7 separate regions of the Homo sapiens genome follow, and regions 1, 2, 3, 4, 5 and 7 are each linked to region 6. The links are contacts of gene promoters, found by promoter capture Hi-C in human tissues and cell types (Jung and others, 2019). All regions are on one chromosome and are shown on one strand. The core of a region is centred on a gene start or on the middle of the fragment in contact, and the rest is flanking DNA. Distances in the headings are between cores, read along the strand shown.

What was found. The method cuts DNA at HindIII sites, captures the fragments that hold promoters and counts their contacts. A contact is called where the count stands out against the background at its distance.
Region 1: a contact is called between the fragment with the promoter of CYP4F3 here and the fragment with the promoter of CIB3 in region 6, in 6 of the 25 tissues and cell types used here (IMR-90 fibroblasts, adrenal gland, dorsolateral prefrontal cortex and 3 more).
Region 2: a fragment that was not itself captured here is called in contact with the fragment with the promoter of CIB3 in region 6 in 1 of the 25 tissues and cell types used here (dorsolateral prefrontal cortex).
Region 3: the fragment with the promoter of NOTCH3 here is called in contact with the fragment with the promoter of CIB3 in region 6 in 3 of the 25 tissues and cell types used here (IMR-90 fibroblasts, mesendoderm cells and pancreas).
Region 4: the fragment with the promoter of AKAP8L here is called in contact with the fragment with the promoter of CIB3 in region 6 in 2 of the 25 tissues and cell types used here (mesenchymal stem cells and spleen).
Region 5: the fragment with the promoter of AKAP8 here is called in contact with the fragment with the promoter of CIB3 in region 6 in 1 of the 25 tissues and cell types used here (adrenal gland).
Region 7: a contact is called between the fragment with the promoter of WIZ here and the fragment with the promoter of CIB3 in region 6, in 2 of the 25 tissues and cell types used here (dorsolateral prefrontal cortex and spleen).

What each region holds. Positions count from the first base shown.
Region 1 is chr19:15,639,531-15,642,230 of GRCh38, forward strand. It overlaps CYP4F3 (cytochrome P450 family 4 subfamily F member 3), which reads left to right and starts at 1,367. Exons shown (of 13, transcript NM_000896.3): 1 at 1,367-1,415; 2 at 1,885-2,083. The coding sequence starts at 1,886. The HindIII fragment of the contact is 9,363 bases long and covers 1-2,700 here.
Region 2 is chr19:15,576,724-15,579,423 of GRCh38, forward strand. It overlaps the pseudogene CYP4F23P. Among named protein-coding and RNA genes, the nearest start is that of CYP4F8, 37 kb to the right of the region's middle. The HindIII fragment of the contact is 3,197 bases long and covers 1-2,700 here.
Region 3 is chr19:15,199,696-15,202,395 of GRCh38, forward strand. NOTCH3 (notch receptor 3) reads right to left here and starts at 1,300. Exons shown (of 33, transcript NM_000435.3): 1 at 1,093-1,300. The coding sequence starts at 1,210. RefSeq lists a silencer at 370-596 and enhancers at 1,183-1,684, 1,685-2,184. The HindIII fragment of the contact is 7,500 bases long and covers 1-2,700 here.
Region 4 is chr19:15,417,561-15,420,265 of GRCh38, forward strand. It overlaps AKAP8L (A-kinase anchoring protein 8 like), which reads right to left and starts at 1,428. Exons shown (of 14, transcript NM_014371.4): 1 at 1,351-1,428. The coding sequence starts at 1,363. WIZ (WIZ zinc finger) reads right to left here. Exons shown (of 13, transcript NM_001371589.1): 13 at 2,418-2,705. The HindIII fragment of the contact is 22,741 bases long and covers 1-2,705 here.
Region 5 is chr19:15,378,436-15,381,135 of GRCh38, forward strand. It overlaps AKAP8 (A-kinase anchoring protein 8), which reads right to left and starts at 1,352. Exons shown (of 14, transcript NM_005858.4): 1 at 1,278-1,352. The coding sequence starts at 1,296. AKAP8L (A-kinase anchoring protein 8 like) reads right to left here. Exons shown (of 14, transcript NM_014371.4): 13 at 2,082-2,177; 14 at 1,615-1,995. The coding sequence ends at 1,687. RefSeq lists enhancers at 493-1,408, 1,343-1,637, 1,409-2,323 and silencers at 598-1,147, 1,488-1,977. The HindIII fragment of the contact is 19,214 bases long and covers 1-2,700 here.
Region 6 is chr19:16,172,127-16,174,832 of GRCh38, forward strand. It overlaps CIB3 (calcium and integrin binding family member 3), which reads right to left and starts at 1,399. Exons shown (of 6, transcript NM_054113.4): 1 at 1,299-1,399; 2 at 1,036-1,070. The coding sequence starts at 1,349. The HindIII fragment of the contact is 31,728 bases long and covers 1-2,706 here.
Region 7 is chr19:15,448,672-15,451,371 of GRCh38, forward strand. It overlaps WIZ (WIZ zinc finger), which reads right to left and starts at 1,285. Exons shown (of 13, transcript NM_001371589.1): 1 at 1,127-1,285. It overlaps MIR1470 (microRNA 1470), which reads left to right and starts at 877; the gene lies at 877-937. RefSeq lists silencers at 550-659, 1,010-1,129, 1,180-1,309. The HindIII fragment of the contact is 11,591 bases long and covers 1-2,700 here.

The DNA.
Region 1 (2,700 bases), core at 117-2,616, 530 kb before region 6:
TTATGGAGCACAGGCAACACTCGAGCAGGCAGCACTCAATAGACCCTCTTTATGTAGATCAGGAAACACTCAGTAGGAAGTCACCATATAGAGCAGGTGGTATCAGTAGGCACTGTTTATGTAGAGCACTTGGCACTCAGTAGGCATGTGTTATGTAGACAGCAACTGGTGCTCAGTGGGCACTCTTCATATACAGGGGGTGGCACTCAATAGGCACTCACTATGTAGAGCAGGTGGCACACAGTAGGCACTCTATGAGGAATATCAGGAACTGAGTATACAGGGTTAATGTAGAGCACCTGGCACACAGTAGGCACACTTTATGGAAAGCACTTGGCACAGAGTAGACAGGATTTAGCACCTGGCACACAGTAGCTGCCCTTCATTTAGAGTATTGGCACACAGTAGAAGTACTTTCCATGCAGCCTTTGTGCAGAGTAGAGACTGGCACACAGCAGCTCAAGTGCTAGTTGCCACCCTTTCCCTTCACTCCTTTTTGGGGCTCCCTCCTCTTAGGAGCCCTCATTGTCCCCCGCTAAGGCCCTCATCGAACATCCCATTTCCCAGATGGGAAGACTGCACCCAGGAGGGGCAGTACTGACCAAAGTCAGAGCAAGGATGAGGCAGAATGAGGACTCCATTCATGGTTCCCTGGCTCTGCCCTTCCCCTGCCTGGACCCCATCCGTTCCCTCTCATCCTAACCCTCCACGTCCCCGCTCTGTCCTCCTATACTGAGTCCGGCCTCCAGATTTGCTTTTCCAGCTGAGCTCTTAATCTCCAGAATCTGACCCAGGTAATCCTCAGTGGGGCTGGATTCTTTGTTCCCGTTCCTAGCAGTCAGGTCTCCAACAGGGCCCTGGACTGCCTGGAGGCAAGACTTGAACTCCATCCAGCAGCAGGGGGATAGAGGCTTGTCTCTTCCAGGTTGCCTGATTCAGCATCCAGAAGTGGTACACGGTGTCCTACCGGCCCAGGGTTAGAGAGGAGCACAGGAGATGATCTGGAACAAGGCTTGGCCTGGCCTGGCTCGCTTGACACCTGAACTCTCAAGTTCATGCTTTTATCTGCCACACACTCAGTAGGTGCTCTTTAAGAGCAGGTGTCACACAGTGGAAACTCTATCTGACCCCTCTCGGCTTACTCTCCACCTTATGTGGGAGGTGCTGAGACCTGAGGATCCAGTGCCTGTGCTGTGTCACCCTGAGCTGGTTCCTCTGCATCCAGCTGGTCTCCCACACCCAGGTTTTGGCCAGCTGCCCAGACATGGGAGCGGCACCCAGGCTGTGGGGATTGGCTGGCCCAGCCCAGCCCAGCCTAGCCTCCCACAGCCTTCCCTACATCAGGGGCCAGGGGAAAAAACCTCCCAGAAGAAGGGGAGAGGAGGTTGTGTGGGACAAGGTGCTCCTGACAGAAGGTGCCAGGGTGGGGGTGGTGGGCCTGGGGCATCCTAGCCTGTGATGGAGATGGGCACTGGGCAAGGGATTGGGCGCACACATAGGGGAGCCCCAGCCTTCCCACATTCTCCATTGCTGCCCAAGGCCCAGGCAGCTCCTGGTTGCTGGCTTGGAGGATGAGTGGTTTTCTAACTGAAACCAAGCCCCTGGCAACGTCCTAATGATTCAGGCTGGGCCTTTCTGGACTTTAATCAGTTTCTCTGTCTTTCTCAATCTAAGTGCTTACCGGGTAACTGGAGGCCACTTGGTTGCTGGTTTTGGCTGGGCCTTTCTGGACTTTACCCCTCAGCCCCTGTTTATCCATCCCTGTTTACTCTTACTGTTCTATCTCCAGCACTGCCCGTCTCTGCCTCTCTCCACTGTCCCTGGAGCTCCCTGGGCCCTTCCCTGGGCCTCAGGACCTCACTCACCACCCCATCTGCCCTGCAGGATGCCACAGCTGAGCCTGTCCTCGCTGGGCCTTTGGCCAATGGCAGCATCCCCGTGGCTGCTCCTGCTGCTGGTTGGGGCCTCCTGGCTCCTGGCCCGCATCCTGGCCTGGACCTATACCTTCTATGACAACTGCTGCCGCCTCCGGTGTTTCCCGCAACCCCCGAAACGGAATTGGTTCTTGGGTCACCTGGGCCTGGTGAGTGTGGCAGCAGGACGGGTCTGGGGTCTCAGGGTGGATGGACTTCCTGAGGGGTAAGAATGAGGCTCAGGTGAGAGGGGGTGGGCTGGGGTCTGGGGTGGCAGAGAAGCAGGGGAGGCGTCTTACTCATTCCTCTGCTTACTCATTTCTGTGAGGTGCCAACCCAAGCCCTTCTCACCTCCCTGTTCTCCCACTCTTGGCCTGTGTTGAATCCTTTTCCTGCCTGTCTTTCCACATTAATGCACCTCTGCGGGGCTCTTGGGCAGGGGGTTGGGTGCACAGAAAGGTGAACCCCTGGCGTTCCCACATTCTCCATTGCTGGACTCGAGGCCTCCTGTACCCACTGTTCAGGGTCCTCTCCCTACCTGGCCTATTTCCTCTTATGAGGGTATAGGTGGGCCAGAGGAGAGGTGTGGGCTGTCTCTCACCTCCACCACATCCGGAGGCACCTTCCTCTTATCTTGTTCCTCCCCAGTAAGATGTCCCAATGGGGTCCTGTTGCCAAACCCACATAAAAGTTGGCCACTCACTTCCCCTTTCAGAAGCCTTCCCTGACCTTTCTCCTCCCCCAGACCTTGCCCTCTGACTTAGACCTGCTCTCCCCTTTGCGGAAC
Region 2 (2,700 bases), core at 118-2,617, 600 kb before region 6:
TGTCATCCAGGAGCGGCGTCGCACCCTCACTAGCCAGGGTGTCGATGACTTCCTGCAGGCCAAGGCCAAGTCCAAGACTTTGGACTTCATTGACGTGCTCTTGCTGGCCAAGGTGGGCTACTCTGGGATCTGAATTTCAGAAGTAGAATGGACTTTGACGTGAAATGTCAGATCCATGAACTTGGACTTGATCCAGAGGGCACTGGGGAGCCATGGAAGGTGCTTGAGGAAAGGAGGGACAAGTAAGATATATTTTAGAGGTGACTCTGTAGAAGAGTTCCTAGAAGGAGCAAACAGGAGGCAAGAGACTGGGAAAGAGTCCTGCTAGGCAGGTCTAATGATGATAAGGGAGGAATCTTGCCTGGAATATGGATCTTCATGAACTGTTTTAGGTTAGACTCAGGTGCCTTCATGGCTGGTGTAATTTAGAGGTCTTGTCTTGTCTCCAGGATGAAAATGGAAAGAAGTTGTCAGATGAGAACATAAGAGCGGAGGCTGACACCTTCATGTCTGGGGGTGAGGGTCCCAGGGTGTGATGTCACTAGGGGTAGGAGTGTCTCCATTCCAGGGATGTGGTGAGTGGACCCTGGATCACCCCATCCCATCTTCCTTCCCCACTTCCTTCTGAGGGCCTCAATACATGGGTGCTGTCCACCCTTGGGTGCTGAAGCAGCCCAGAGACCCAAGCTTACCTGGCTGCCCCTCAGGCCATGACACCTCGGCCAGTGGTCTCTCCTGGGTCCTGTACAACCTCGCGAGGTACCCAGAATACCAGGAGCACTGCCGACAGGAGGTGCAAGAGCTCCTGAAGAACGGTGATCCTAAAGAGATTGAATGGTGAGTGTGCAGGTCCTCATGACCTGTTCCTGAGTCCCTCTCATTGGTTTAGCTCTTCAGGTGGGAAAGGGAGAAGGTCTTATTGGTGATTGTGCTATTACTGCCTAGTGGGAATTGGTGCAGAGCTCAGAAACAGGGCCTGGTACTCAGCCTGGAGCAAAGGAAATGTTGCAGGATTTTTGCCTTTACTATCTATTGCAATTAAACTCATTCAATTATTTTTTCTTTTTTGTTACTTCTTTCTTTTTTCTTTTCTTTTTTTTTTTTTTTGAGACAGTCTCACTGTGTCATCCAGGCTGGAGTGCAGTGGCATAATCTCTGCTCACTGCAACCTCTGCCTCCTGAGTTCAGGTGATTCTCCTGCCTCAGCTTCCTGAGGACCTGTGATTGCAGGCATCCGCCACTATGCCCAGCTAATTTTTGTATTTTTAATAGAGACGGGGTTTCACCATGTTGGCCAGGCTGGTCTCGAACTCCAGACCTCAGGGGATTCGCCTACCTCAGCCTACCAAAGTGCTGGGATTACAGGTGTGAGCCACAGCGCCTGGCCAAACCTATTCAGTTCTAATAGATATTGCCGAATTGCCTTTTAGAGTCTCTGCACTGATTAACTCTCCAGTGTGTTGTAGAACTAGTTCTCTTTGTTTCCTCCTTTTTGATAGCTGCATAGTGTTCTCTCATAAGGATGTACTGTAATTCATCAAAACATTTCTCCATTGATGGATATTTGTGTGCTTTCCAGGCTTTTGCTATAACTAACATGATGTAGTGGGCACCCATGTACACTGACCATTGCTTACATCTGTGAGCAGCTTTGCAGTACCAATTCTGAGAAGTGCAGTTGGTGAACTGAAGACCATTTGAGATTGACAATTCAATAGCTCCTACACACACATTTTGAGAATGCCTTCCTCACATTCTCCCCTAAAGTGTCTATTATGAAACTTTAAAACATTTGCCAATCTGATAGATGCAACATAATACTTCAATGAACATCACTTTAAGCCTGGGTAAAGTTGAGCATTGTTTTCACTTACTGACCATGGGTATTTCTTATTCTGTGAAGTGTTTGCACAATTTGTTCCTTCTAGTTTGGGTTTTGTAGTTTTTTTCTTATTGATTTATAAGCACTGCTCACAGATTAAGAAAACTAGTTCTTTTTTTCTGTTTTGCAAAGTTCTTTTTCAGATTGTCTTTGAATTAATTGTTGGTTTTCATTCATTTATTTTGGCTTGATTAATTTATTTGCAGTCAAATTCTTTCCTTTATACGTGCCGTTTTTTGTTTTTTTTATTATTTTTATTATTTTTTTTTTGAGACAGAGTCTTGCTCTGTCACCCAGGCTGGACAGCAGTGGCACCATCTCAGCTCACTGCAACCTCCGCCTCCCGAGTTCAAGTGATTCTCCTCCTCAGCCTCTCAAGTAGCTGGGATTACAAGTGTCCACCACTATGCCCAGCTAATTTTTGTATTTTTAGTAGAGATGGGGTTTCACCATGTTGGCCAGGCCTCAGGTGATCCACCTACCTTGGCCTCCCAGAGTGCTGGGATTACAGGCGTGAGCCACTGCGCCTGGCCATGTTTTTGTTTTTTTAAATCATGCATGGGACATTCTTTCATGCTCTAAAATTAAAATGTAAAACTCATGTTTGTTTTCCTCTGATGGGTTTATTTGTTTTTAAAATATTTTATTTATTATTTTAGTTTAAAAATATTTATTACTTTTTTCTCTATGAAGTCTATGATAGTATAAGAATTGTTGTAGGAATGTATTCATTTTCCTCCAAATGGCTAGTTGCCCCAACAGAATTTAATGAATATTTTGTATTTGTCTTACGATTTTAAATAACAGCAGATTCACAA
Region 3 (2,700 bases), core at 50-2,549, 970 kb before region 6:
GGCCATGTGTGTGCGCCGCTGGTCCGGCGGAGGCGGCGGCTCCTGCCTGGTCCTGCCCCGTCCGGGCCCCGGGGCTGGGCTGGGGAGGCCGTTCACTCCCGAAACCCCCACCCCGCCCAGCGCCAAGCCCCACACTGGCGTCTGGGACCCCTGGCCAGGGGCCTTGGCCCGCGCCCCTCCCCCGCCCACCAGGCCTCCCGTAGCGGTGAGGGGGGTGCCCCCGCAGCCCCCTCCCCGGCCCAGCCGCGGGTCCCGCTTTGTCTGGCAAAGAAAGCGCGAGGCCGGCCGGAGGGAGGGGGTGTCTAGACGGCGCGGCCATTGTCCCGAGCGGGGGAGGGGAGGGAGGAGAGGAGGAGGGGCGGGGGCCCCTGGCCGGCTGGGGAGGGGCTCTGGCCGCGGGGAGGGGGCGCTGGAGCCGAAGGGGAGCACGTGGGCCCTCGCCCCTTCCCCTCCCCGCGCAGGGGCGGGGTCCCAGGGCCTCCGGGTCCCCGCGGCCAGAGGAGAGAGGCGGGCTGCGGGCGGGGGAGGGGGCGCGCGCGCCGCCGAGGCTCCGGCTCGGAATCCGGCTCCGGGTCTTGCTGCGCGCCGGCCTGGGAAGTTTTCTCCGAGTTCAGAGCTCCCAGAACTTCGCGCCCCCTCCCCACCCCCCGCCTGGCCCAGCCCGCCCGGGGTGTCGGGGGCGGGGTGGGGGGGCTTTTGTGCGAGAGGTCCCCGGCCTAGAAGTACCTGGGCCCCCAATCATAACCTACCCAGGACTCCAGGCGTGAGTTGGATGGGGACGAGTCCCGAACTCTGTACGCACCCCCCCACCTCGAGTCCCTGATCCCCGCACCTCGAGCTCCCAGTCTCGGACTCCTGGGTCCCTTCATCTTCAGCTCTAATCGCTCAAGGGTCCCTGTTCCTTGGGCCTCTGGGGTCCTCCCCATTCTGAATCTCTGGGTCCTCCAGGACTGGCATGAAGCCCGGGGCTCCTGCGCCCCTTCCCCGACCCTGGTTCCTGCCTCCCATGAACCCCCGCCAGCCCCGGCCTTGGGGGTTCTTGCACTCCCCCTCTGCCGCCCTCGTCCCATCCGCCAGGTCCCGGCCCCTCACCTGCAGCCCCCGGCCCCGCTAGCAGCAGCAGCAGGGGCAGCGCCCGCACGGGTGGCGGTGGCGGTGGCGGCGACATCGGGCGACGGCGGCGGCGGCGGCCACGGGCCCCCGGCCCCATGGCGGCCGGCCGCGACCCTCCCCTCCTCCCTCCTTCCCTGGGCTCCGGGCGCGTCCCGGGCCAGCCTCCGCGCCGCCAACTTCGCCGAAGTGAGGCGGCCGGGCCGCCCCGCCCCCAGCCCTCGAAGGCTCGCCCCGCCCCGGGGCCGGCCCAGCGCGCCCCCGCCCCCCGCCCGGCCTCCCGGGGTCCCTGCCCACCCTCCACCCGCACAGCCTGGGACGCGCGGACCCTCGGAAACCCAGGCCGAGCATGCAGTGAGACGCGGGCAGAACCCGGAGTGGCGGGCACACCCAACCTCGTGAACGCCCACGCACCCCATCCCCATCCCCCAGTACACACCCAGAGCCGGACACCTCTGGAGCCGGGACAAAAAACACAGCCTCCCAGAAACTCTGGAAACTGAGGCCAGTCACGTCCTGAGAGGCTCATGGACCCACAGCCACGGACGCACAAATGCAAGCCCATGCACCAAGCTTCCCCAGGACTCTGATCTAAAACATTCACAAACCTAAAAGTCGGACCGGGCGCGGTGGCTCCGGCCTGTAATCCCAGCACTTTGAGAGGCAGAGGTGGATGGATCACTTGAGGTCAAGAGTTGGAGACCAGCCTGGCCAACATGGTGAAACCCGGACTCTACTGAAAATACAAAAATTAGCTGAGCGTGGTGGCGCACGCCTGTAGTCCCAGCTATTCGAGAGGCTGAAGCAGGAAAATCGCTTCAACCCAGGAGGCTGAGGTTGCACTTAGCCGAAATCGTACCACTGCGCTCCAGCCTGGGCAACAGAGTAAGACCCTGTCTCAAACAAAACAAACAAACAAAAAACCGCTAAAACTCACTCAGCCAGGCCAGGAGCCTAGGACTACATTTGCAGCCTCAGACCTCAGACACGTACTAGGAGTCACATGCATGTGTGTGTGTTCACACATGCACACACAAACTCTTCTTGCTCTCAGCCCTCCCAGAAAGCAACCCACTTCCTCTGTGACTCTCAAAGGGTCACCCCAGCCCCCTAGTCCCACCCCCATACCCCACACAGCTTTGGGCCTCAGCCTATCTGGCTCAATTTGATTAATTCTCTTTTCTTTTTTTTTTTTTTTTTGAGACAGCGTGTCGCTCTGTCACCCAGGCTGGAGTGCAGTGTCCCTATCTTGGCTCACTGCAAGCTCTACCTCCCAGGTTCAAGCGATTCTCCTTCCTCAGCCCCCACCCCCACAATCTGCCAAGTAGCTGGGATTAGAGGTGTGCGCCACCATACGTGGCTAATTTTTTCTGGGTTTTTGTTTACTTGTTTGTTTGTTTTTGAGACGGAGTCTCGCTCTGTTGCCCAGGCTGAAGTGCAGTGGCATGATCTCCGCTCACTGCAAGTTCCGCCTCCTGGGTTCACACCATTCTCCTGCCTCAGCCGTCCGAGTAGCTGGGACTACAGGCAACTGGCACCATGCTCTGCTAATTTTTTTTTTGTATTTTTAGTAGAGACGGGGTTTCACCG
Region 4 (2,705 bases), core at 178-2,677, 750 kb before region 6:
TCACCCCTGGATGAGAACCCACTGGGCTGGGGGATGGTTGCTAGAAAAACTGGGGTTCTTGGAAAGCTCCTGACCTGGCAGCCAGGGTAGAGGGGACTGGCACTACCTTCTTGCCTATGCCAACATAAAGTGGTCTACAAAGGAGCCCCACAGACTCACGTTGCATTCTCAGTTCTCAAAATTCCAAGTAGAATGCAGGTTACCTGGCAACCACACACGCTCAAGCCTATAATACCCTCACCAAACAGGGAGGCCTAGTGTAAGTCTCCTGGCCGAGAAGCCTCATCAGTCACTGCCAAGGCAAACCCAGGAGGCCTTGGCAATTCACCCAGTGATGATTTACAGTCGCCCAAGCATATTGCGGGGGGCGGAGAGGGGCTCTCGGATCTGTCACCCACTCTCCCTTTCAAATCCCATTGGCCTCCCACTGGCCTCCCTGGCTGATCTTCTAACAAGCCAGGCAGTTCCTGCCCGTAAGCCTTTTACAGCAAAAGCTCCCTGGGCCAGATATCTTTATTCGCTCCCTCCATTTAGGTCTCTGCTCAAATGTCACCTCTTTACAGAAGGCTCCAACCACTCCACGTAGTGGAGCGACCCCCGCACGGTACTGACCACCCTAAAATATATCCTACACTCGCTTATTTGCCTATTAAGATCCTCGCCTCTAAGCTGCTTGAGGAATTCTTGTCTGTATTCCCAATACCCAGTCTGTACCGGACACGGTTCATTTGACAGACGCAGAGGGAATTAACATGGAACCTTGTCATTCCTTGCAGTTCAGCCCCTAGGGGCCCAAGGCTCCCCGCTCAGCCCAAACCCTTCCAATATTTACTTATCCCCCTAGGGCCTGGCGCCTTTCCCAGTTCTGAAATAGACAAAAGGGGGTGGTGGGTGGGATCGGGATGGGGGTGTAGAGCTGCGGCGTTTTTGCAGAGAAACTGCGCGGGGGAGGACGCGACAATGGCGACGGCAGCCGAGCCTGCTGCCTGCTCGCAAGGACCAAGGCCTGAGAAAGGGAAACCTAAGGCGTCGAGGTCCAGGAGCGCAGGCCAGGGACGGAGGTGGTGGGGGCGGAGACCTCGTGCGCTGAGGCCCGGACCCACGGACACAGGCGACAGAAGCCAAGACATCAGGCGGCCGGGAGCCGGGACGCCGGCTGCAGACACAGAGAGCTGAGGCAACGAGGCGTGAGGGCAGCGACCCTGAGGCGACGGGCCAGCGGCGCCATTTTGTGACCGCAGGGAAGGCAGTGACGGGGCCCCAGGGGAGGTGCGGGCAAGCCTGGTGCGGCATCCGCACGTCCCTGTCCCATCCCCCACGCAGAGCCCGACCCCACCCTGCCAGGCCCACCTGTGTAGCTCATGGTGGCGGGCAACACAACATCCGACGACGCCGGCTTCTGCTGCTCTGAACATCCGACGCTGCGATAGCTGCTGCTAACCACAGGGTCCCCTCCACACACACCCGAGCCCCGCCTCCCGACCGCATTGGCTCATACCGGCCTCGGCTTCACGTCTATTGGAAGGAACCGCTGTCTATCTCTATGCCTCCTCATATCAGTGGCTGGAAGCTGCTGGCAATCTCGTGAGAGCCCCGCCTTGTCCCCGCCTTCTGTTATTCTAAGGCCTCAGTGATTGGCCTACAGAAGCCGGCAGAGAGGCGGAGTCCTATAGAATTTGAGGGGGCGGAGCTGTGCACTACGGAAAGGCCCAAGGCCCAAGCATGGTCGGGCTGGAGGAGCGCCCGTACCCTGGAGACCCGCCAGAGGGAGTCGGGTCTACGGCTCAGGGCAGGGCTGGGATGCCAACTCCGCCACCGAGGTGCTGGGTAGGGGACCTAGCTAAGTCTCTCAAATTCTCTGGCCTTCGGCTCCAAAACAAGCATAGCAAAGCCATGTTGAGAAGAGAAAATTAAAACAGCACCAAACAAGATGCTGGACACACGTTTCAACATTACGTGACAAAGTGTGTGTAAAGAAATCATTCTGGTGCCAGTGCACTGAATAAATGTGATTAATCGTAACAAAACGATAATATATTTATATGGCATATGCTTATATGTGTAATAATTCCGTTTGTATTGTGTGTCATTCGAATGCTCCTTCAAACCTGCAAAAAGCTTTTAATCCTCACTTAAAACTGAAGCTTGGAACTCATGATTTGCTCAAGGTCCTTGACAGTTACGTGTTAAAATGGGAGCTTTGCTTCTAAAACCCTCCTGATTCACTCTGGGCTCGAGAGATCCTGCAATAGTGCAGCCGGGCACCAGTCATGTCCTCAGTCTGTTTCCTGGGCATATGGAAACCCTGCCAGGGACAACTCATAATTTCTAGAGATGACAGAGCTGCACCGAAGAGTACTTAACACGTGTGTTTGTGAAAACTCATTAAGCTGCGCAATTACGACTTCTACGCTTCGTGTGTTTTAAAACTTTTTTTAAGGTATGCTGTTTCTTTTTGATATTGTTGATTTCTTTAGGTGTAATAGTGGCATTTACAACGTTGAGAGAAACATACTGAAATACTAAGAAGTTAACTGATCTTATGGCCAGGATGTGCTTCACACAATTCAGACAGGTAGAGAGAGGAGGAGGAAGCAAGGAGCTATAAGATAAATCTCTGACAGCTGAAGACATTGGTCATGGGTTGGTGATGGATAGATGAGAGTCCATTTTACTGTTTGCTCTACTTTTGTATAGTTGGAATT
Region 5 (2,700 bases), core at 102-2,601, 790 kb before region 6:
AGGGGGTAAAAAAAACCTCTCCAAACTAAGAATGAAAAGAAGGAATACAATACCTGCAGAAAAGATCTGATGGGAAAGAAGGGAAAGAATGGTGAAATCTACCCAGGCTGCGGAAGACCAGGAGAGCCAGGCTGAGCCTTCGCTAGGACCCGGAAGACACCAAAGCACACCGCGCACGCTGCCGCCTCAGGACCGAAACCTCTCTCTGCAATTTCTGGTGCTGGGATACTTTTGCCCTGCCACTTCTCAAGATCGACAACTTCTCGAGCTCCTGCAGCCAGGATCAGACCACTAGCTTCTCTACAACCAGTCGAGCTCCACCCAGCATGTCCCAACTATCCCCTGTGGGCAAACTTTGCTCCCAAAAGGCTCTGATTCCAGAAGCAGGGAGCAGGCAGCTCGAGAAGATCGGCCCTACTGCAGGCCAAGCGCTAAATCCTAGTGGGGAAAGGACACGTTCCCTCCTGCACAGCCCCTCGGCCCCTCCAGGCCACCACAACAGACTGCCTAAAGGAGAACTGCCAATGTCACCAGCCCCAGGGCACATCAGGTTTCCAGCTTTATACGAACACTCAGCATCTGCCCCTCACCATCCTGTCCCAAGCCAGCACGCGCCGGGTACAGAGCTGGAGCCCGGCGAGGCTGACTCTCGCGCCGGCAGCACTCGGCCCCACCGCGCTGCACCGGGGACTAAAGGCCCGACCCCGCGCAGCCCGACGGCTTCCGGGACAGGCGCCCTGGGCCACGTGAGCCCAGCGGAGACCCTACACGGCCCCGCGGGCCTAGGGCAGGTCGGGAGAGAGGCGGCCCCCGCGGTCCGCCCGCGGCCCCAGACCCAGCTCCCCGGGTCCGACCTCACAACCCCACGCTGTAGCTCCGCCCCCCTAGCGCCGCCATTTTGTGGCGTCTTCGGAAGAGGAAGCCGGGAGTGCAAACCCCGGGGTCGCTGGGGGCCGGAAGGACTCCGCCGAAGGTGAGGGGCAAAAACGGCCCACACTGTCTAAGACGCCCCCACGAAGCCCACCGCGGCGTCTGCCCCAACCCCGAGTCCCGCCCGCCTCCTCGGGGCCTGGCGGCCAATCCGCACGCAGAGCCCCGGGAGCGACGGCGCCAAAGCCCAATGAGCGGCGCGCGCGCGCCCTGGCCGCCTCTCCGGAGGGCCCAGCTGGGGCAACCACGCTCGGGACGAAGGCCCGGCCGGCGGCAGTCTGCGCAGCGGCTGCGTCGCCCGCACAGAGCCTTCCCTCCCCGCTCCGCACCCAGCAGCCAACACAAACCTCCGTAGCCCTGGTCCATGTCTTCGACGCGGCCCACCAGCAGCCCCGTTTACTAGGCGACCACAGCACGCATGCGTTCAGCGCACCTCCGCCATCGACTACTGGAAGACCAGGCGCACACGTCACTACTTCCGCGCGCCCCCATTGGCTGGTCTTCACGAGGGCCCGCCCTCGCCGTCCCAGCTGGCCTTTCGGGCTGCTACGATCCAGCTCCGTGGCCTAATGGGAGTTGTGGTCCCACCGCGGTGCCCGACGGCCCGGCCCGCGCGCATGCGCACCCCGCCCCTCTGCCCACCCCGCCCCGCCCGCGCGGCACAGTAACAGAGAAACCCGGAGGTGGGATGGGAAAACTTTATTAGGTTTGGTTTCCAGCTTCGGCCACGCGGGCTCCGCCCGCCCCGAGCTCGGGTCACGGGGCGCCCCCGCCGCCCTCCTCGTCGTCCTCCACGTCGAGGCCCGGGATGCCGCGGATCTGGCGTTGCAGCGCCCCTCCCAGCAAGGGCACGGCGCCCTCCTCCTCCTCCTCTGGGGGCGGCGGCGGTGGCGGCGACACGGCCCCGGGGGCTGGCTCTGGGGGCACGGGAGGCTGCGCCGGCACGCCCTCTGCGCCCTCCGAGATCCCTGCCGCTTCGCCCTGCGCCCCCTCGTCCAGGGCACCGCCCTCAGCCTCCTCCTGCTCCTTCTCCTCCTCGGGGCTGTCGGTGAAAGGGTTCTCGCCCTGTGGGGAGGGGCGCGGACACTGAAGGGAGGGAGCACAGGCGGGGACTAAGCTGGGGACAGGGCAGGCCCGGACCAGTGCCTCACCTTCAGGTAGCGCTCCAGCTTCTTGCTGATGAGCTTGTTGTTGAGAATACTGCGGGCCACCATGAGGGAGGACTTCTTGGACTGCTCCATCATGAGCTGCGGGCAGGGCAGAAGGAGCTGGAGAGGCTGCTCTGAGTGCCCTACAAGTTGCTGCCCCGACCCTGCCAGCTTAGAGGGACCCCACCCCGCCCCTGCACCCACGCACTTCCAGCCCCACCAACGGAGGGCCACTCCACAAGCATGGAACCACAACCTATCTGATCTTTGTTCAAATTCCCTCTCCTTCCACACCACACTTACTGTAGGTAAATAAAAATACAGATCTATATATCTCTAACTTTACGGCTGTATTACAGAAATCTGATTTGCTTACAAAAAAGCTATAAGCAGTGAACAATTAAGAAACTAAGAGCCAAAGGTGGGTGCAACCTGTAACAAGGTGCCAACTAGGCTAATAGGCAAGGAGCACTTTGGGGCCAACGGGGAAGATATAAAAACAGGAACAGATATTTAATGAAACGTCTTTTTTAACCCACAGAATTCCAAGAATGAAGAATTATTCCCAGTCATGCAAGGGTGAAGAGAGTCTTCTCTGCTGGTGGGAGGATCAACTGTTTCC
Region 6 (2,706 bases), core at 149-2,648:
CAAGTCCCAGTCTCAGGAGAATCTTTATCTTTCATTTTGTTTTTCTGAGGCAGAGTCTAGCTCTGTCACCCAGGCTGGAGCACAGTGGCGTGATCTCGGCTCACTGCAACCTCCACCTCCCAGGTTCAAGCAATTCTCCTGCCTCAGCCTCTTGAGTAGCTGGGATTACAGGCACCCACCACCTCGCCCAGCTGATTTTTGTATTATTAGCAGAGATGGGGTTTCACCATGTTGGCCAGGCTGATCTTAAACTCCTGACCTCAGGTGATCCACCCACCTTGTCCTCCCAAAGTGCTGGGATTACAGGCATGAGCCACCGCGCCCAGCCTCAGGAGAATCTTTCTAACGTGCTGATGGTCTCTCCCCTGCTCATGCATGCTCCATAGCTCCCTGCCACCCTTGGGAGAAAGCCCAAGCTCATCAGCCTAGAGACTGGGACAGTATGACAAGATGTGACTTGTCAGCTTCTCCATCTCTGCCTCTGTCCACTGACCACACCTGCCCCCCTTCCCCATTTGAGTCCCAACAAATTGGAAATACCAGTTGGGCATGGTGGCTCACACCTGTAATCCCAGCACTTTGGGAGGCTGAGGCAGGGGGATCGCTTGAGCCCAAGGGTTTAAGACCAGCCTGGGCAACATAGTGAGAGCCCCATCTCTATAAAAAAATACAAAAATGAGGTACATGTGGTGGCTCGCACCAGTGGTCCTAGCTACTCGAGAGGCTGAGGTGGGAGGATCACCTGACCTTGGGAGATCGAGCCTGCAATGAGCCATGATTGCACCACTGCACTCCAGCCCAGGCAATAGAGACAGACCCTGTCTCAAAAAAAAAGAAAAGAAGGAAGGAAGGAAGGAAGGGAGGGAGGGAGGGAGAGAGAGAGAGAAAAGAGAAAGAAAGAAAGAAAGACTACTTACACACACACACACACACACACACACACACACACACACACACACCAAATTGCAAATATCCTCCAGCAATGAATAGAAAGTTGTTTTTCCAGATCTTCTCTCCCTTCCTCCCTGGACTGACCTCATGATCTCCTTCCTTGTGAAAAATGTGCAGTCCTGTGGAGAGAGGTGTTGTCTTAACCCGAACCCTGCCTCTGGGGCCTCCTCCCACGGCCTCCTCCCTCCACCCCACACTCACACAGATGGCCTGATGCTGCCACACACAGAGCAGAACCAGGAACCCAGGCGGACGGTACACCCAGATGAAGGCATTCTGTTCCCATTTCCCAGACCACGGAACCAAAGTTGTCAAACCCACTGAGGACCCATCCTGCCCCCCTCTACCTGATACGCTTCCAGCTGCTCGTGTGTGAAGACTGTCTGCTTGTTGCCCATGGTGTGAACCACAGCCCAGACTTGGGGATGCACCCCAAAGGCTCCCAGCTTCCTCGGGGCCACACGGGTTGCCAGGCTGTTGTGTACCAGTGTCTGGGCAAATCTCCCTGCCCTGGCTGTCACCCACCCACCTACGCCATCACCCCCTGCTTGATGAGACTCAAATTACAGCCAGGCTCTCTGGACAACAGCCTGAATGTGTCCATGGGTAAGGATAAGGGCTGTGGGATGTCACAGAGAAGACCTCAGTGGGGAGGCCACATCTGCCACCACAAGGTGAGGCTGGGGTTATGGGGCACACTCAAGAGACAGGCAGGGTATACAGAAGGGCTATGGGCACACTGCAGCTCAAATCCCAGCTCTCTGCCCACTAGCTGTGTGGCCCTGGGCAAGTCACCTGACTTCTCTGAACCTCATTCATGAGATGAAAATTACATTATACCTACCTCATAGGGTCATTCTCAGGATCTGAGATTTAAAAAAAAAAAAAAAAGGTTTTGACTGGGCAAGGTGGCTCACACCTGTAATCCCAGCACTTTGGGAGGGCCAGGCAGGCGGATCACCTGAGGTCAGGAGTTCAAGACCAGCCTGGCCAACACGGCAAAACCCCATCTCTACTAAAAATACAAAAATTAGCTTGGCATTGTGACACATGCCTGTAATCCCAGCTACTCCAGAGACTGAGGCAGGAGAATTGCTTGAACCCAGGAGGTGGAGGTTGCAGTGAGCCGAGATCCCGCCATTGCACTCCAGACTGGGTGACAGAGTAAGACTCCATCTCCAAAAAAAAAAAAAAGGTTTTGGCTGGGCGAGGTGGCTCATACCTGTAATCCCAGCACTTTAGGAGGACAAAGCATGAGATTCACTTGAGGCCAGGAGTTCAAGATCAGCTTGGGCAGCATGGCAAGGCCCTATCTCTACTAAAAATACAAAAATTAGCTGGATGTGGTGGTGCATGCCTGTGGTCCCAGCTACTCAGGAGGCTGAGGTGGGAGGATTGCTTGAGCCCAGGAGTTTGAGGCTGCAGTGAGCCATGATTGCATCACTGCATTGGGAACATAATGGTGAACAAGCTAGATGAAGTTCTGGGGTGTGCATTGACATTATTATTTTATTACATTTTATTTTTTTGAGACAGTCTCACTCTGTTGCCCAGGCTGGAGTGCAGTGGTGTGATCTCGGTTCACTGCAATCTCTGCCTCCCAGGTTCAAGTGATTCTCCTGCCTCAGCATCCCAGGTAGCTGGGACCACAGGTGTCCACCATGCCAAGCTAATTTTTTTTGTATTTTTTTTTTTTGAGACGGAGTCTCGCTCTGTCACCCAGTCTAGGGTGCAGTGGCGTGATCTCGGCTCACT
Region 7 (2,700 bases), core at 35-2,534, 720 kb before region 6:
ATTTCTCCAGACGCCTCCCTTCATTCACACACAGCTGCACTTTCCCCAGTCCTGCCCTCACATCCATGCACACGCACATCCTACTGCCATGCCTTCGTTTCCTCGGCAAGAATCCCAGCCACTTGTACACTCTGATCCTATACACCGTCAGGAGTCTCCCATCATTACCCCTTTACTTTTCTCCATTGGGTTGTCCCATACCAATGATCCCTGCACTTTTCCCACACTCCAACCCTTCCCCCACACAGGACCTTAGGGTTCTCCAGCATTAACCCCTTCACCCCCCTCCACACACACAGCCTCAAGTGACCCCAGCATTAACCCTTTCGCTTCTCCCCAACATTATCCCTCATGCATACCCAGCTTGGGCTCCTCCATTCCCCCCACCCCCCAACCAAGATTGCTCTAGTCCTCGGGCGAAAGAAAACGATAGGGCTCCTGGTCCAGAAATGAGGACCCTGGGGAGCGGGGGTTGTCCTCTCTACCTATAAATACCTTCAAGGTAACGGCGGAAAGTGAAGGGCAGGAATGAGGCGCCCTCCCCAGGGAGATGGTGGGGAGGCCGGGCCCAGGCAACCGGGGCGGGGCCGGGGCGCCAGGCCTGGTTGCAGGCGCTGCCCTCGGGGGCCTGGGGATTCCCAGGGGGCTCCTCCGTGGGCTGGCAGTCTTGGTGGGGGTCCCTACCCAGGCCCGGAGGAAGCACCTGCGGTTGTCCACTGGGTGGGCACTGCCCGCGGGGAACGGGCGGGACCGCAACTTCGGAGCACTTTGGCAGCGTGGGGAGGGGGCTCCTACCCGGACGCCCCCCAGGGGTCGCAGAGGTGGGGGCTGCGCCGCGCGGGCCCACTCCTCGGGGGTCCAGGGTCCGGGGGATGAGCCCTCCGCCCGTGCACCCCGGGGCAGGAGACCCCGCGGGACGCGCCGAGGTAGGGGGGACACCTGCCCCAAGACCCCCGCCCCTCCCCCCACCTGCACGGCCCCGCCCCCGGCCAGGCCCCGCCCCTGAAGGCCCCGCCCCCGCCCCCGCCCCGGGGGGTCCCGCCTGGCCCGGCCCGGCCCGGGGCCTCCCCCGCCCCGCTACGGCTCCGCCCCACCCGCGGGCTCCCCAGGCCGGGCCGGGCCTCACCGGGGAGGCGGCGCCGCCGGCCAGGTGCCGGGGCTCGGAGCTCCCCTCCTTGGTGCGGCCGTCGCTGCCGCTACCGCCGCTGCCGCTCCCGGTGCCGGTGCCGCGGCCTCCGCAGCCGCCGCCGCCTCCACCGCTCGGGGGACATTGTCCCTTTAAATCGCTCCCCCCGCCGCCCCGCCCCCCCGGCGCGCCGCCGTGACCTCAGCGCGACAGCCCCGCCGCGCCGCCATGATGGGGAGGTCCGGGGCGCCCCCCCCACCCCACCCCCCCCCCCCTCGCCGCCCCGGGGGGGGCGGCCAGCGGGCGCGCCGCCATGTTGGGAGTGGCCAAGCGGGTCACCCTTAAAGGGCCCGCACGGCCTGAGTCCAGGGAGAGGCCCCGTTACCATGACAACACCCTTGTCGTCCCACACCCCAATGGCTCCTTATCGTCCCACTGGTACTTCCAATGGTAGGCTCGCTAAAAGCACTAAAAGAGTGGGGAGGGTGCAGAGAAGTTCCCCCATGGGTCATTGATGGGTCATTGATAGGTCATTGAAGACTCCACCCAGCCAATTTTTAGCCTTTTGTCCCCTGCCCCCCATCAGCTACCTTCCAACCACAAGCTCACTCCCTCCTTCCCAATCATCCACACTGGACTTCAGCACCTCCATGTCCCTAGAGTTGCCCTAGGTCTTCAGTCCTAAGTCACCTTCTCCACCCAGTTCCCAGGATCACAGCTTCCAGGACTACCCCATCAGACACACATCATGGCCTGTTGTCTTGTCTTATCCACCATGTATCCAGATATCTAACCACCTAGCTATCTCATCCACTTCCTCAATCTATCAATCACTCATCTACCTATCCAATGAACTAATCACCTATCCACCCACCCCTCCAACCACCTATTAATTCACCCAAACACCCACTCAACCCACCCATTCACTTCCCATCTACCCACCCATTCATCCAGCACCCAAGTAAATACTCATTTATCCATACAACCAAGCAAGTACCCAACCATCCCCACACACATCTTTCCGCCCAGCCCCCCAAACATCCATCCACCAGTTTGTCTGTTGATTTGGTCCCTCCACTAACATGTAAGTTCCATGAGGCCAGGAGTCCTGTCTAGTTCATTATTGTTTCTCCACTGCCCAGTTCTCAGGCGTCTCAGGAGACCTCAACATATGTACATATGATATATATAATCACAACATTGAAAAAAATTTTTTCTTACTATGAACCAGGCCTTTTCTAGGCAGACATACCCAACCTGGTTAACCAACTACCCAGCTACTCACCTACCAGGTCAAACATCCAGCAAATGCTAACCTATCCGTCTGCCGTTTGCTCCACCCACTCTACCCCTCACCCATCCACTCACCCATGATTTGAATGACTCATTTACCCAATCATTCATACACAGTATCCAACCATCTCCACACCTGACCCCCTTCCTTTATCCGCCTCCCAGACCCATGGCCTCCGTGACATGAGGAGGGCCTAGGAAGATGCTCTCACTGTGGGATTGGGAGGTTGCCAGGGGTGGAATCCATGCTTCATTGAGAAGCAGGTGCTGCCTATAACAAT